2 separate regions of the Homo sapiens genome follow, and region 2 is linked to region 1. Evidence: promoter capture Hi-C in human tissues and cell types (Jung and others, 2019). All regions are on one chromosome and are shown on one strand. The core of a region is centred on a gene start or on the middle of the fragment in contact, and the rest is flanking DNA. Distances in the headings are between cores, read along the strand shown.

Region 1 (3,516 bases), core at 216-2,715:
TGCAACCTCTGCCTCCCAGGTTCAAGCGATTCTCCTGCCTCAGCCTCCCGAGTAGCTGGGATTACAGGCGTGCACCACCATACCTGGCTAATTTTTGTATTTTTAGTAGAGACGGGGTCTCACCATGTTGGGCAAGCTGGTCTCGAACTCCTGACCTCAGGTGATCCACCCGCCTCGGCCTGCCAAAGCGCCGGGATTACAGGCATGAGCCACTGCGCCCGGCCAACTCCAGATTTCACTTATAGGAGAAATACACAGCTTGTTTAAGCCACCACCATTTTGCACACAGATCTGAATGTGTTCCATTTGGATTTGCCCCATCTGAGCTCACAGGTCCTCGGCCACCACTTCACTCGCTTGTCTTTGCCAAAGTGGCAAAGCTGTGGTCTCTGCTGCCATCCCAGCCTGCCAGGAGGTCCCCCAAGGAGAAACATGGGTGGGACCATGTTACCCCTTGGGGAAACCAGAGCCGACTGTTGGCCCTGGGCCTGGACCACAGCAGAGGGCTGCTGGGCTTGCCGGGGGGTGCTCTGGCCCCAGTGGGCCTGGAGCCGTTCCGTGTGACAGCGTCTGCCTGCGGAGCTCTGGCCCTGCCTCCCCAGCTTTGCAGCAGCTTTCAGAAGCAGACTCCTCGCCACACACGCTGCAGATAATGTGTGCCAGCCCACGGCCTGGGCCCCCACTCCCCGCAGCCCTTCCCTCCTCAGGGCACTCCACTGGACGGTCACTCTCAGGACACCCAGAGCCTGCCCAGCTGCCGCCCTCAGCCCAGGCTGCACAGAACGTGCTCAGGGACTGGGGATGCGGGGTGGAGGGCTCCTCCTCCGTTGTCTACACAGCCTGGGGCCAGCCACGTGTCCCCAGGACTCCAAGGATTCCCCAGTGGGGCCCAGAAAGCAGGGGCTTGGGTAGGAGCAGACAGTTTCTTTGGGAGTCTGTCTCGTCGTCAGTCCTCCTTGCCCCAGTTTCTCCTCTAAGGGAATCAGCACTGGACCTGTGGGGTGGGGGGCCGTGGCCCGGGGTGGGGGGCCGTGGCCCGGGGTGGGGGAGGCCGTGGCCCGGGGTGGGGGAGGCCGTGGCCCGGGGTGGGGGGCCGTGGCCCGGGGTGGGGGGCATGGCCTGGGGTGGGATGCTTTTGGAGGGAACATGGGGATGTGTGAGCGGGGGTGAGAGAGGCAAGGCAAGTGGGGGCGTTGGTGCTGGCTCTGTCAGGGGCTCTGTGCCATCCTGCTTCCCCCTAGGACCAGGTGTCATGAGACCCATCTCACAGTGGAAACCCCCTTCCCGGGAACTCCAGCCTAGGAATTCCCCTCTGGCCCCTGACCCGCCATCTGGGCTCCAGGAAGGTGTCCCAGGCTCCAGGGGCTGGGGTACTCTCCTGGCCTGGATGCTGGCTCCGCCCCGACTACACCCAGGCGCGGCAGCTGCAGGACGCTGGAGGAGGAGGAGGGAGGGGCGAGCCCCACGCGGAAGTCAGGTAGGAGCACCCGCCGCTGGCAGCCACTCTCCTGGCCGCCAAACCCCAGCTGGAACTCCGGCCACAGCCAGCATGCAGGTGAGTCCTGCGCTCAAAAGGGTCCACACCTTCAAGGCCCCCAGCCACGCCCACACCTGGGGCCCCCGGCCCCAGCCCCCCGCCAGCCCCACCTGGAAGGCGCCTGTGTGTGTGGGGGGGGTCCCTGCAGGCTGCCCGGTCAGGCGAGGGTGACCGCCCGGCTCAGCTAAGCTGCCTCCTGGACTCCTGGGGCACGCTGGGGGTTGGAAGTGCTGGAGGCGGGCGGCGTTCCTCCCTCCAGCCCGGGATTCTGAGGGCACCAGGGCTGGGCTCTCAGCTAGTGTGTGGGGCCAGGAACCTCTACCAGAGTCCTGAACACGAGATGGAGAGGGCCTGCCCACCGAGGCGGGGGCTGCTGCTGAGGACCCCAGACCTGGCAGCTTTGCCTTGCAGCTGGCCCCTAAGGGGGAGCGGGCTGTGGGCACCAGGCAGGCTGCCCCAGGGTTGGGAGCTGCAGAGTGGCCGGCGGGCTGTGGGCTCTCTGCTCCCCAAGGACCCCGCCCAGCACAGGTGGGGGCCGACTGCTGCTGCTGGATTCCGATTCTGGGGGTGGGCGCTGACTGCTGCTGCTGGATTCCGATTCTGGGGGAGGGAGTGCAGGTGAACACGTAGAAAGACATCCTTTCTCCCCTCTGCCAGTGAAGAGGTCACCTGGGGCCAGGGCCAACACCTGGGCAGGTCAGCACCTGGTCGGCCCAGGGAGGAGGCAGTGGTGAGGTGTGGAGTGAAACCAGCCTCCCTCTCGGCCTGCCAGGGCCTCCACGTGTGGGCTGCGCCGGCGGCCTCTTGCTCCATCTCCGCCCAGGGCTCTCCTCGGCCCTCCACATCCAGGTCTGACACCCTGGCTGCTCAGCCCAGCACCTGATGCCCCTTAGCCTGAGCTCAGGGTCCCCTCTGCCAGCCCCTTCCTCCCATGCTGGGGGTTAGAGGAGAGACTTGGGGCTGGCCAGGGGTTGGGTTGGGAGAAGCAGCACCTGGTTTGTTGGAAGTGAGAGCATCAGTCCTTCAAAAAAGACAGTTGCAGCCGGGCCTGGTGGCGCATGCCTGTGGTCCCGGCTACTCCGGAAGCTGAGGCAAGAGGATTGCTTGAACCCGGGCGTCGTGGCATGCACCTGCAGTCTCAGCTACTCAGGAGGCTGAGGCAGGAGGACTGCTCGAACCCGGGCGTGGTGGCGCGTGCCTGCGCTCCCAGCTACTCGGGAGGCTGAGGCAGGAGGACTGCTGGAACCCGGGCGTGGTGGCATGAGCCTGCGGTCCCAGCTACTCCGGAGGCTGAGGCAGGAGGGTTGCTCGAGCCTGGGAGTTCTGGGCTGTAGTGTGTTAGGCTGACTGGCTGTCCGCACATCAGTATGGTGACCTCCCAGGAGCAGGGGACCACCAAGTTGCCTAAGGAGGGGTGAACCGGTCCAGGTCGGAAACGGAGCAGGTCAAAACTCCTGTGGTGATCAAAAAGGACAGTTGCAGACATGGGGAGGACTTGCTAGTCCCAGCTCCAGGCTGGATCTGGGCGTGCCTTTCCTCTGCTCTAACCCCTTCCATGGCTCCCCACTGCCCCCTGCTGAAGTCCAAGCTCTCCATTTGGCCAAGAAGCCTAGCAGCCTCCCCTGATTGGCCTCTGCCAACCTCCAGCCTCCCCTTCTGGCAGCTCCCTTCTTGCCCTTTATGCTTCTGCAAAGCTGAAGTACCAAGGACTGAGTCCCTGGACTCAGTTTCCGTAGGTGCCGAGTGCTGAGTCACCAGGAGTAGTAGCTACCAAGTCCTCCTTGGAGGTGCTGAGTGCTGAGTCCCTGGGAGGTGCTGACTGCTGAGTCCCAGACACCAACTGCACCCTGATTCTCAGGGCGTGCCCACACATGTTCTTTCTCCCGGGAATGCTGCCCCCATTTTCTCACCTTTTGCCAACCTCTTGCCCTACAATGCCAAGCTCCATGCCTCCTCACCTGCCAAGTAGGCCCCCGCCC
Region 2 (3,397 bases), core at 624-3,123, 320 kb before region 1:
GAGGGCGGGGGCAGGTGAGGGCGGGGCAGGTGAGGGCGGGGCAGGTGAATGCAGGCCAGGTGCCCACCCAGAGCCACAGGCTGCCAAAGACGCTCACGGGCCTTAAACTAAAAAGGCAGGAACAGGCTCATGCCATTGTTAAGAACAAATCGGTAAGACTCGAGGGCTCTAAGTGGATAGTGGGTTATGGGTGACCAGGATTTTCTCCAACCCACATGACACAATAGACAAAGGCAAGGGAGGCCCTCTGGGTGCCCGTGCTCTTGCGCCAGGCCGTCACCTCATCCCAGAACTCACCAGGGCTCAGCTCCCAGGCTAGAACCACTGAGTCATCTCTGACCACATTCCAGTCCTCACCCTGTTCCACCCTACCCATTCCTGGGGCCACCCTGCAGCAGGCCCGTAGCACCCTGGTTTCTGCTGAGAGGAGCCCCTTGGCCTCACTAGGCCACTTGCCCAAATCCCAGTGCACTTTGGACATCCTGGGGTTGATCCCCAAGGACGGAGCAGTGCCCATACTTTGCCATGTGGCTGGGGCATGGGATGAGACAGCCAAGGCTCTGCTCAGGCACCTTCAGACACAAGTTCCCTCCCCAGGCGCCTCTGCCACATGGCCACACGGGGGTGTTCGAGGGGGACAGCAGATGGCACAGCTGAGTTGGGAAACAGCCTGCAGTTCCTCCAGCAGTCACCCAGAGACTCCACTCCTAGGCATATGCCCACGAGAAACAAAAACACATGTCCAGGACAAAACTTGCACATCTGTGTTCAGAGCAGCAGATGTGTTCATAGCAGCAGATGTGTTCAGAGCAGCAGCATACATCACAGCCCGAGAAATGGAAACCGACCACAGCAATATACATCACAGCTCAAGAGATGGAAACTGACCAGGTGTCCACCAACAGATGAATAACTGTGGCCTATCCATAAAATGGAGTATTTTCCAACATATAAAAACAAATGGTCCGGCCAGGTGCAGTGGCTCAAACCTGTGATCCCAACACTTTGGGAGGCCGAGGCGGGCGGATCACCTGAGGCTGGGAGTTTGAGATCAGCCTGACTAACATGAGAAACCCCATCTCTACTAAAAATATAAAATTAGGCGGGAGTGGTGGCGCCTGCCTGTAATCCCAGCTACTCCGGAGGCTGAGGCAGGAGAATCTCTTGAACCCCAGAGGTGGAGGTTGCAGTGAGCTGAGATAGCACCATTGCACTCCAGCATGGACGAGAATGAAACTCCGTCTCAAAAACAAAAAAAAACAAAAAAACACACAAATGAGGCCAGGCACAATGGCTCATGCCTATAATCCCAGCACTTTGGGAGGCCAAGATGGGTAGAGATCTCTTGAGCCCAGGGGTTCGAGACCAGCCTGGGGAACGTGGTGAAATTACCCAGGAGTGGTATGTGTGCTTGTCATCCCAGCCACTTGGGGGACTGAGGTGGAAAGATAGCTTGAGCCTGGAGTCAAGGCTGCAGTGAGCCAAGTTCGTGCCACTGCACTCCAGCCGTGGTGAAAAAGTGAGATGCTATCTCAGAGCAGGTCAGTGATGGCAGGTGGTAGAACATGCAGACACACAGATGTGGAAACAAAACACCTCTTCCTGATGCGAATTATTTGAGTATAGCATTGGCTGCTTCTGGGTGAGAACATCATAGAGGAGTTTTACTTTGTTTTATACATTTTCTGTCTCTTCCACTCTGAACGTACATATGTTTGGTTTGGTTTTTCTGAGACAGGGTCTCACTCTGTCACCCAGGCTGGAGTGCAGTGGTACGATCATAGCTACTGGAACCTCAACTTCCCAGGCTCAAGCGATCCTCCCGCCTCAGCCTCCTAAGTAGCTGGAATCACAGGGGTGGGCTAGTTTTTCTTTTCTTTTTTTTTTTTTTTTTTGAGATGGAGTCTCATTCTGTCACCCAGGCTGGAGTACAATGGTGCAATCTCGGCTCACTGCAACGTCCACCTCCCAGGTTGAAGTGATTCTCCTGCTTCAGCCTCCCATGTAGCTAGGATTACAGGCACCTGCCACCACGCCCAGCTAAATTTTTTGTAGTTTTGGTAGAGACGGGGTTCCACTATCTTGGCCAGCCTGGTCTCGAACTCCTGACCTCAGGTGATCTACCCACCTCAGGCTTCCAGAGTGCTAGGATTACAGGTATGAGCCACCGTGCCCGGCCTAAAAGTTTTCTTTTCTTTTTGAGACAGAGTCTTGCTCTGTCACCCAGACTGGAGTGCAGTGGTGTGATCTCAGCTAACTGCAACCTTCGCCTCCTGGGTTCAAGCAATTCTCCTGCCTCAGCCTCCTAAATGGGACTACAGGTGTGTGCCACCATGCCCGGCTAATTTTTTATATTTTTTAGTGGAGTCGGGGTTTCACCGTGTTAGCCAGGATGGTCTCGATCTCCTGACCTCGTGATCCCCACGCCTCGGCCTCCCAAAGTGCTGGGAGCCACCGTGCCCAGCCTAAAATTTCTTTATATTTTTGTAGAGACAAGGTTTCACTTTGTTGCCCAGGCTGGTCTGGAACTCCTGGGCTCAAGTGATCCTCCCATCTCAGCCTCCCAAATTGCTGGGATTACAGGCATGAGCCATCTTGCCCAGCCAGCATATATTTTATATAACAATAGTTTACTTTTTAAAAATCATGTAAACATAGGCTTGTGTTGATCAGGACAGAGGAAGGACAGAATCTGAATCTGCAGGTGCTAACTAGTGGCTTTTCTTCTCTGCTGAGTGGGTGGATGGTACTTCCTGGGAAATCCCTCATTTCTGATCACCAGCAAGTGAGGGAGCTGGCTCTGGAGCAGAGGGCAGATCTAGGCTGACATGAGCTGGTCAAGTCCAAGCTGTGGGCTGTGCTCCCCAGTCTGGCATTCCCCAGGGCTGAGAGAGTCAAACTTGCCTGATGCCATGTAGACCCTGCTCCAACAGAGGAAAAATCTCTGAGAGCTCCTTCCTTGTGGGGGACCACTTACTTTCCAGCCTGAATTCCTTCCCAGGTTGATGACAGCTTTATAAGAATTCGGTCCTTGCTGATCCCAGCTTCCTTGTAGAGCTCGATGAGCCGCCTGGCTCTGGCCACCATCGCATCTTTATCAAAGGAGAGCCTGTAGGAGCAAGAAGAACCCATCCCCTCAGATCACGCAGGTTGCCCACCACGCAGAGCAAGCTGGAGGCCGGGTGTCTGCCTGTCAGTTTTGAGCAGCACCACCGTGAGCACCAACCACTGCCCTCAACCTTCCCCTCACTGGAGGTTTGCAGAATGGCTCTGACAGCAACTCACACCCAGTCTCACAAACAGAGGTCCTCAGTGGGATCCATAGGCTATAATTTGTATTAAAAAACACTGGGCCAGGTGCCGTGGCTCACGCCTGTAATCCCAACACTTTGGGAGG

The links. The method cuts DNA at HindIII sites, captures the fragments that hold promoters and counts their contacts. A contact is called where the count stands out against the background at its distance.
Region 2: a contact is called between a fragment that was not itself captured here and the fragment with the promoter of ANO9 in region 1, in 1 of the 25 tissues and cell types used here (lymphoblastoid cells).

What each region holds. Positions count from the first base shown.
Region 1 is chr11:439,960-443,475 of GRCh38, reverse strand. ANO9 (anoctamin 9) reads left to right here and starts at 1,465. Exons shown (of 23, transcript NM_001012302.3): 1 at 1,465-1,555. The coding sequence starts at 1,550. LOC105376506 (a long non-coding RNA gene) reads right to left here. Exons shown (of 5, transcript XR_007062542.1): 4 at 3,496-3,516; 5 at 2,803-2,991. It also overlaps the pseudogene RN7SL838P. RefSeq lists enhancers at 67-864, 1,172-1,441 and silencers at 1,273-1,567, 1,612-1,691. The HindIII fragment of the contact is 11,307 bases long and covers 1-3,516 here.
Region 2 is chr11:759,834-763,230 of GRCh38, reverse strand. TALDO1 (transaldolase 1) reads right to left here. Exons shown (of 8, transcript NM_006755.2): 4 at 2,978-3,109. Among named protein-coding and RNA genes, the nearest start is that of TALDO1, 14 kb to the right of the region's middle. RefSeq lists an enhancer at 1-643. The HindIII fragment of the contact is 7,127 bases long and covers 1-3,397 here.